2 separate regions of the Homo sapiens genome follow, and region 1 is linked to region 2. The links are contacts of gene promoters, found by promoter capture Hi-C in human tissues and cell types (Jung and others, 2019). All regions are on one chromosome and are shown on one strand. Each heading gives the region's core, a stretch centred on a gene start or on the middle of the fragment in contact. The rest is flanking DNA. Distances are from core to core; before and after follow the strand shown.

Region 1 (4,847 bases), core at 639-3,138, 260 kb before region 2:
CAGGAAGCCTAGCCCATGGCCAGATGGAGATCTGTTTGCAGATGCCTCCTGGCATCTGCCACTCCCGGCTGGTGACATTTGCACATTTCAGAAGGCAAACCTGTCCCAACATCTTCAAACTTCCAGAGAGGTGTAGCACCAGGAAAGTCCTTGGGTCTCTGGCTGTCAGCACCAACCAGCTGATTTGCTTCATCTGCAGCTGAACTGCTGCTGGACTCCAGCCTAGAACACTAGTGCACACCGGGTCTGTTCTTGAAGATTTGCAGATTCTGAAATCAAAATGCCCTGTGTTGCCAGAAAAGGCTGGCTCCCTTGCCTGCTTCATAATCCCTTCTCACCAGGCTTTCCTAAAGAAACTCAATGAGTCAGGAAGGAAGAAAACATGTCTGAGGGAGATCTGGAGGTGGGCCGTTCTCTATCATTGCTTCTGAAAATTCCCTTCTGTTTTGCAATGTGGGTAATGTTTAGGGATTTGCTTTTAGTTTTTCTCTGTTTCTTCCTCTGTCAGCTCTCACTTTGAGAGACCCTTCATTTACCACTCATGAAATTAGCTCTGCAATCGCAGGAGGCTCTCTGATGGGGAATTAGTCACTGTTGCAAAAAAGTTTAGACTTTACTTTCATCCCCAGGAGCAGGGCAAGAAATTGTTCCCACCCTGCTCTCAGAAGGAACCATCACTCAACTGCTCTGCTCTGCTCTGGCTCTGGGGCCTGTACTTTTCCTAGGCTTTTAATTTTTACTGCGTACCTTCCATCAGCCTTCTTACTGAAGGCTGTATGCCAGCTGATGTCTATGCACAGCAAGGTGGCTTCTGGGACACCTGCTTCAAACAGGTATCCAGCTAACTGCTCCCCACCAAACCCCACCAGGTAATTGGAAAGGAACTTGGAGTTGAGTGAATACCTGTTTCAAAATGTTAAGTAGATCAAAGTGTAAAGAATCCAATATATTTGTTGACAACTGATTTATAGAAAACCCCAGCAAGAAAGAAGGGAGAGGTTCAGCCTCAGGCTGGTGAAAATGAGATCGTGGGTAGGGCACCACTGTACAGCATTCTGGCATCAGACCTCTGTCCTAAGGTGCGAAGTCACTCTGTGCTACTATCTGAAATTGTGTTCTGTTTATTATGAAAGAGGTTTTCAAAAGTGTTTTGATAAGCTTGGATTTATCTCTGGAAAGGCAATATGGTCTCCATTACAAGACAGGAGCTTAATATCAGAGACAGGTTGTATCAATGTATGTAGCTGCTAGTAAATAGTAGATAAAAGAAGCTTCAGAAAGGTCGGGGGAGGGAGTCTTTTCTTGTTAGGAAGGAACAATCTTGCAGGGGATGTGAGAGATTTTCTCTTTCTCCTTTCCTCTGCCTATGGAAAATCAAACAGGAGAAAGCTAGAAATATGAGACAGAGAGAAGTAATTTCTCCAACTATTGACACTGGCCAAACAAGATAAATAGTTCATATTCTGATGATGATGACAACAGTTATGATGAGAAGATATTGACCCAGAGGAAGAAAACAAAGGCTTTTGATTTCAAGTTGTGTGTAAGCCCCAAAGAATTGTTGTCAGAGTCACTTTTATGATCTATGGGACTTTTGGCTACAATTATAAGAATTTAGCGTGAGTGAAATAAATATAATTGGTCAGAAAAATCAGTATTAGATTAAGACACGATTGAAAATGGTTAACCATTAGTAAGAAGTATACCAAATTACACGTATTTTTGTGCTTCTTTCAGTCTTGATCTAATTATCTGTTAAAAAGTAACATAGTTAAGAACTGTATTCTGGTTTAAATATAACACAAAGCAAAATATTTTATTGTGCTCTCTTAGGCATATGTTTGAGATACCTGGCCACTGGAGGTCATCTCGTCTACTATATTCACCGCAGATAAAGAATGAAAAGAGAATACACAACCTTGTGATTGCTAGCAGTGAAAGCTCAGAGTTATGACATAACAGTAAGTGTTATATTCTACATAACCTTAGGTTTAACAGAGGTAGTTACTAGATACTTAAAGAACATGCTTTTATTTTGCACAAGAGAAAATGGAATTAAAAATGGGAAAAGAATAGAGTCATGACTCCCAAACTGTGTCCTAGGCACCCAAGACTTTGCAGCAAACTTAGAGGGGGGCTGTGGCATAGTTTAAATATCAAGGAAGTATAGTGGCACTTGACATCTGTTGGATATCAACTGAACTATTAGCTCAAGGTAGTTCATTGTTCCAACATTAGATTGCGCTACATTTCTTCCAAAAATGTCCTGTCTTTGGGAAGCTGAGTTTTCAGCAGTTGTTGTAAAATGCAAGTACCCAGAGAAAATCAGTGTGGAATAGGAGGTGAAGGTGCTTGTGTCCACATGGGTTCCAAGATTTGGGAAGATATTTGGTGCCCAATTGGCATACACATCCCTTTTTCTTTTTTTTGGATGGAGTCTCACTCTGTTGCCAGGTTGGAGTAGAGTGGCGCGATCTCAGCTCACTGCAACCTCCACCTCCTGGGTTCAAGCAATTCTCCTGCCTCAGCCTCCCAAGTAGCTGGGACTACGGGTGCACGCCACCATGCCCAGCTAATTTTTGTATTTTTAGTAGAGACGGGGTTTCACTATGTTGGCCAGGATGGTCTCAATCTCTTGACCTTGGGCACACACATCCTTTTAAAAGTAACTGAGTATTTAAGAATGAAATAAATTTTTTTCTTTCGATTTATGTGTATAATTTTTTTCAAACAACTAAGTTGTTGGGACTTAACTACTGGATAAATGGAATTTTGGGTAGGTATTTCTTTTTGCCTAGGGACTCTGTGAAAAAATTACAGGGATACAAAATGCTGTGACATGAGACAGTTTGGGAACTCTGAATTAGAGCAATACAAAGGTAGATTTTAATGGTTCAGGCTCATTGGTCAGAATTAGAAAGTGGTTAGATCCTCCTCTCCCCACACCAGCCAGGACACTGCTCCCAGGATTTTTCCCTGTTCCCATATGAAATAAGCAATCTTAGTCTAAATTTTTAAATTAATACAACCATTTGGTAGACTATTAAAAGTTATATGACACAAAGCTTCTCAAAATATCTCCAATGCAGGACTTTTTTTTTTCTTTTTAATTTTTTAATCTGTCATGGACTACATGATGGTTAATTTTATGCACCAACTTATCTGGACTACAGTGCCCAGATATTTGGTCAAATGTTATTCTGGATATTTCTGTGAAGGTGGTTTTTGGATGAGATTCATGTTTAAATCAGTAGACTTTGAGTAAAGCTGATTATGATTCATAATGTGGATGGGCCTCATCTAATCAGTTGAAGGCCTTAAGAGAACAGAGACTGACCTCCTCTGAGCAAGAAGGAATTCTATCAGTAGTCTGCCTTTGAACTCTGCATCTCTTCCCTGAATCTCCAGCCTGCTGGTCTACCCCATCCGATTTCTTTGGATTTTGGTTCCACAATTACATGAGCCAATTCCTTAAAATAAATCCCTATCTATACATATACACACACACACATATCCTGTTGGCTCTGTTTCTCTGGAGAATCCTAATACAGACTGATGCTTTAAAAAAATGTGATAAAAATGAACTTCTAGGAAAAGAATCATATGCTTAAATATTTCAGAAATGTCAAATTGTTATAAAGTTTCTAAATGCTTGCTTCCATTTTCTATATTTAGCTTTAGCTTGTCTATGATTGGTAATAAAAGGTTTGTGGAACACACTTTAAGTAGCACTGATCTCATAAAAATGGAAATATATGCATATACCTATCTATATTTATATCTATGTACATACATTTATTTACTTTTAACTTGAAACTAATTTTAAATTGATAGAAAAGTTGCAAAACTAGTACAGAGTATTCCCATATATTGCCTTCCTCAAGTTCCCCAGTTTTAATATCTGTATAACTATAGTATAATTTTCAAAACTAAGAAACTTAACGTTAGTATAATACTATTAACTAAACTAAAATCCTGTATTAATCTGTTCTCACATTGCTATAAAGAACTACCTGAGACTAGGTATAAAGGAAAGAGGTTTAATTGATTCACAGTTCTGCATGCTATATAGGAAGCATGGCTGGGGAGGCCTCAGGAAACTTAACAATCATGTCAGAAGGTGAAGGGGAAGCAGGCACATCTTACATGGCTGGAGAAGGGGGGGAAGAAAGAGTGGAGGGGGAGGTGCTACACACTTTTAAACAAACAGATCTTGTGAGAACTCACTCACTATTATGAGAATGGCAAGGGGGAAGTCTGTCCCCATGATCTAATCACCCTCCCACAAGACCCCTCCTCCAACATCGGGAATTACAATTTGACATGAGATTTGGGTGAGGACTCAAATCCAAACCATATCATTCCACCCCTGTCAATCCCAAATCTCATGTCTTTCTCAGATTTCAAAACACAATCATCCCTTCTCAACAGTCCCCCCTAAATCTTAACTCATTTCAGCATTAAGTCAAAAGTCCACAGCCCAAAGTCTCATCTGAGGCAAGGCAAGTCCCTTTTGCCCATGAGCCTGTAAAATTAAAAAGAAAAAGTTAGTTACTTCCAAGATACAATGGGAGTATAGGCATTGGGTAAATACACCCACTCTAAAAGTAGAACTCAGCCGGAACAAAGGGGCTACAGGTCCCATGCAAGTCCAAAACCCAGCAGGGCAGTTATTAAAGCTCCAAAATGATCTCTTTTGACTCCATGTCTCATATCTAGGCCACATTGATGCAAGGGGTGAGCTTCCAAGGCCTTGGGCAGCTCTGCCTCTGAGGCTCTGCAGGATACAGCCCCTTTGTCTGACTTCCTGGGCTGGCATTGAGTGCCTGTGGGTTTTCCAGGCACAT
Region 2 (4,699 bases), core at 202-2,701:
AAAGTTTTCCCCATTTCATTTGTCTTTAGAGAAGATGGAGAACAAGCAGAGAGTCTTTCCTTTTTCTAATAATCCTACATATTAATTGGGCCAAGCTCTCTCTCTCTTTCATACCAAGCACTCTAAGTTAGCATTTAAAAAAACAAGCCAGCGCACCCCTATGTCATGGTCATATAGTGGGCCTGGTTTGAACATGATTATATACTCATTCTTGATTTCCCAGCTCGGGTTTGAATCCCATCTTTGCGATTTTCTAGTTGCATGACTTGAATAAATTCTCGGACTTACCTGTGCTTCATTTTTCTCATCTGTTAAATGTGGAACACCTACCTTATAGGGCTGTTGTGAAAAGTACGCAAATAAATATAGGGTAAAGATCTAAGAACATGTGCCTGACACATATTAAATGTTCAATAAATGTCAGTAGTTATTATATATTGATGCTTTTTAAGATTAGCTACATTCAATACTCTATTAAATTCTGTGACCCAAAACACAAGTGGCAGGTAGTCTAACAAAACTGACATAATTCTTCACGACTCCAACCTTTCACTGCAGAAACTCCTTTTGTGGGCTTCCCACACTGTAGGAGCTGCCAGGGTGGAGGGGTTAATTTCATTTAGGAAGCTCTCCTTTTCCAAGAGTACATCACTCACAGTGTCCCATACACCCCATCAAGATACCTTTTCTATTATACCTTCATCCCCTACTTTCAAGAAACCAGTTTTCAACATTCTAAAACCTAAACCGATGCTTAAAACCTTGTTCATTTCACAGAAATCAATAACAGATAACTATGAGGCCTGCAAGAGTATATTATTTTTCTGGCTGCTATTTACTGCGTGTTTAAAGTGTACTTTGCATACGCTATATAATTTAATTCTCACAACAATCCTATGTAGTCAAATACAATCACTGTCAAGAAACTAACAAAAAGTCAGGTAACTGAACTTGGAGATTATGTTTGCATTTAAAGAGCGAAGGGTTCTAACTCTGACAGGCCAGATTCTAATTACAGGCACTACTTACTACTTTAAAGAATCCAGGAAATAACTTGCCTCAACACCTCTCTTAAAAACTTGAGCCCTGAGAAGTGAGGAACTGGATTTGCTATACAAGGAAAGAAAGGAATGGTGGCTTCTCTCGGCCGGAGCGGAAGCGCCTGCCAGTCAACCTCGGGGGTCGGCGACCGTCGCGTGGAACAGAGAGGGGCGCCAGCGACGCTTTCCCGCGTCCACGACTGGGGTGGGCAACAGGGCAGGGACAGGGCCGCCCACCTCCCCAGGCGCGCAGCGAGGCCAACTCACCTGCGTGGCCGCCAGCCGCGCCCGCACCTCTCGCATTACGAACGGCTCCAGGCCGCGACCCGCAGTGCAGAAGAATCGGGCGCCAGCCTCAGGCCCGGACCCTGGCTCTCCACGCGCCTCCGACATGGCGGCTCAGGCGCGCCCTCGCGCCTTCGGGTCACGTGGCCTCGGGCGCGAGCGGCTCGCTCCTGGAGGCGGCGCGCAGGGGCGTGTGATGCCAAAGGGGAGAGGGAGAGGGAGAGGGAGAGGGGGAGGGGGAGAGGGAGGGGGAAGGAGAGGGTGAGAGAGACGGAGAGCCTGGGAGGGTCGCATCAGCCCTCTGTGGCCCCTATGGGTCTTCCTGGTTGACCATCTGTCCCCTCCTTGATTAGGCACCAGAATGGGTTAGAATCACAGGTGGAAGGGTTAGAATTGATAATTCAGTCCAGTTGCCTTATTTTGTAGATTGAGGAAATTAATGCCCAGAGAGGTCAAGAGACAGCGAGTTAGCAGCACAGCTGAGGCTGGAGCCTAGATTTCTCCCTATCTAACATAATGCCTTTTCCTCCATTCCTCCCAACTCCGTCCTCTTCCTGTCCTTCATTCCTCTCCTCTACTCTTCTCATAGAAGGAGCCCTGGTCTGTTTTCACAAAGAATCGGGCCAAACGTTGGAATCTCCAGGACGGAGAGCAGAAGTTCCTGTTCTCTAACAAACGTCTGCGTTCTGAAACAGCTCATATTTCTTGCACTACTTAGTTAACCATCCAGCCATAGATGAATCAATGTGCCATCTAGTTTTGGGCACCTGATTTGAATGGTTCTCCTAACGGTATTTGAAGGCATTTTTCTAAACTCTGAATTTTAAAATGGAAATGAAAATATTACTTGGGAAGCATAGACAGAATCCATGTTACAAGATAAACAGCGTGAAATTAGCTCTGTAGCTGTATATTGAGTCAGTTATACAGAAATGATAAATGCATGTGTGTCTCTGACAAGGGGCTGTCCTGTGCTTCAGAATGGGATGTTAAGGTGAAGAACTGATACTCCCTCACCTCCCCCGACACTCCCACACACACCCCCGCCCCCACCCAGCTCATGCTCTACTGGGCCGTACAGTAAAAATTCTTCATGGAGTCACATAACATGAGCTTTTCCAAGGTTCAGTCCTAAGACTCTTCTGATGCTGCTTTTTATTTTTTATTTTTTGCGACAGGGTCTCCCTCTGTCGCCCAGGCTGGAGCGCAGTGACGTGATCTTGGCTCACTGCAGCCTCCACCTCCTGAGCTCCAGTAATCCTCCCACCTCAGCCTGTCCAGTAGCTGGGACCACAGGCAAGCCCCACCACACCGGGCTAATTTTTGTATTTTTTGTAGAGAAGGGGTTTCACCATGTTGGCCAGGCTGGTCTCGAACTCCTGAGATCAAGCGATCCGCCTGCCTCGGCCTCCCAAAGTGCTGGGATTACAGGCACCCAGCCCTCACACACTACCGTTTTGATGAATTCTTTTCTTGCCCTCAGACACATGTTTTCCTTTTCTGGGCTACTGCCGTAGTTCATTTTAACTTCTCTATACTTTGGGGTTCTGACTGTCAAGTCTGTCTGGGGAGGACAGGAACCCTCTTTAGTTCTCTCTACATTCTGTGCCCAAGATGTTAAGTATGCAGATAGGATGCATTCCATTCAGTTCAACAAATACTGAACACCTATTCTCCGCCAGTCACCACCCTGTCTTGAGGATTCAAAGATGGGTAAGCAAGGGTTTGGACTTCAAGGGCTTAGAGGATGGTGAAGTTGAATGACTCACTGAGGACATACCCGGGAAGCTATGACAGCACCGACAAAAAGGAGGCAGGGAGGGCTTCCTGGACAAAATCGCTCTTGAGTCCAGCATGAAGGATGTGTAAGAGGGAGAAGCAGCAGATGAAAATGAGACGGCGTGTGGGGGGTGGGGAACAGGAAAGCCACGATAGCGGTTAAGTGTTATTAGAGCATAAAGTATATGAGTGGAGTAGATAGAGATGCGGTAGAGCGGTGGGTAGGGGCCCAGTTATGTCAGTACAACCAAAGGCAGCTGAAAAAATGAAATGACCTATTCAGTCCAGCACCGACCAGCAGTGTGCTGGCCTGGGTGAAACCACAGCTGAGCTGAGGCTGCAGTTTTGCAGAGCCAATCGATCTTCCCCTTACTTTCTCCTCTTTCTTCTGATGTCTTTTCCCCTCCAGGAGCCTTTGGTCAGCAAGGTCGGGGCTACTCTTGTTTCATATGTGGGAGTCATGTGCATTTGTTCCTTTTGAACTGTGCTGCAGTATGTCAGCTGTACCAATGCCCTTCACAAAATGCTTGCAGTGCGATGGAATGGGGGAGTTCTGCCTCTTTAGGGAGAAATTAGTTTCGTTTTCTGGTAAGAGAGTTGCCTGGAATTCTCTCCCCCATTACTCAGGTACTCTTTTCTCCATCATCTCTTCTTCTTTAAAAAAGTCTCTTCTGAAAACTATGGATCCCTATAGACAAATTTAGCATATCCAGCTGCAATTTACTGTTCGAATATTACATATTTCAACATGTAGGAAATTGGAAGTCGGCAGGAACAATTTTAGAATGGACAGACTTTTAAGTGGAGGTGTTTTAAGAATTTAGGACAAGAATATTTGCTTTGAGATAGCTCCCTATTTTGGTGCCACTGGCAATTCTTTTAGTTCTTAAAGGTGTATGATGTATATACTTATATATTAAAATGCAAGTGCTATAGATTGTGAAATCCTTGAGGATGGGATGACTTCATCTGGGCATCTGTAGCGAGAACACTGGCTTGCCTGTGGTGGCCTCTCAAATGTATGCCAATAAAAAGTAACTAAATGAAAGGGCAACTAAGGAGGCCCCTCTCAGGAGAATTGCTGTAACTGCCCTATCAGCAGGGGCCTTTGCAAGCAGGATACAGGAATAAGGGCAATGTAGTGAGGCCAATGAAGTAGAGAAGTGAGAGCACAAAGGGGATAGGAGTACCTCCAAAATAAACTTCTTCACAACTTTCCTTTCTAGTTCCTCTCTTCCTCACTATCTCTTCTTCCTCCCTATACACTTTATAAATAATGTTTCTTACCCAGGAATACTCCTCAGAATTACCTGAGAAGTCACCAGTGTCAAGCTTGCCACCCCACTCTCCTGTATTCCAGTACAGTTGAGTAGGGTTGGTGACAAGCCTTGGCCTCTTCTCTCCATGAGATGAAGAACCGTTGCTAGATGCCAAGCAATTCAAGTGCTAACGTCTTCAAAATGCCCACTACTTCCCTTCTCCCAGGCCTCTGCTTATATGGTTCCCTTTGGCTAGAGCGCTCTTCTCTTCCTTTCTTTCTTTTTCTTTGAGGATAAGCTAGAATGCCACATCTTCTCTGGTGTACTTTCCTGCCT

What was found. The method cuts DNA at HindIII sites, captures the fragments that hold promoters and counts their contacts. A contact is called where the count stands out against the background at its distance.
Region 1: a fragment that was not itself captured here is called in contact with the fragment with the promoter of THUMPD2 in region 2 in 1 of the 25 tissues and cell types used here (hippocampus).

The regions. Positions count from the first base shown.
Region 1 is chr2:39,516,750-39,521,596 of GRCh38, forward strand. MAP4K3-DT (MAP4K3 divergent transcript) reads left to right here. Exons shown (of 6, transcript NR_037875.1): 5 at 1,834-1,961. Among named protein-coding and RNA genes, the nearest start is that of MAP4K3-DT, 82 kb to the left of the region's middle. RefSeq lists enhancers at 1-70, 71-663. The HindIII fragment of the contact is 5,186 bases long and covers 1-4,481 here.
Region 2 is chr2:39,777,807-39,782,505 of GRCh38, forward strand. THUMPD2 (THUMP domain 2 tRNA and snRNA guanosine methyltransferase) reads right to left here and starts at 1,452. Exons shown (of 10, transcript NM_025264.5): 1 at 1,308-1,452. The coding sequence starts at 1,433. The HindIII fragment of the contact is 6,344 bases long and covers 1-4,699 here.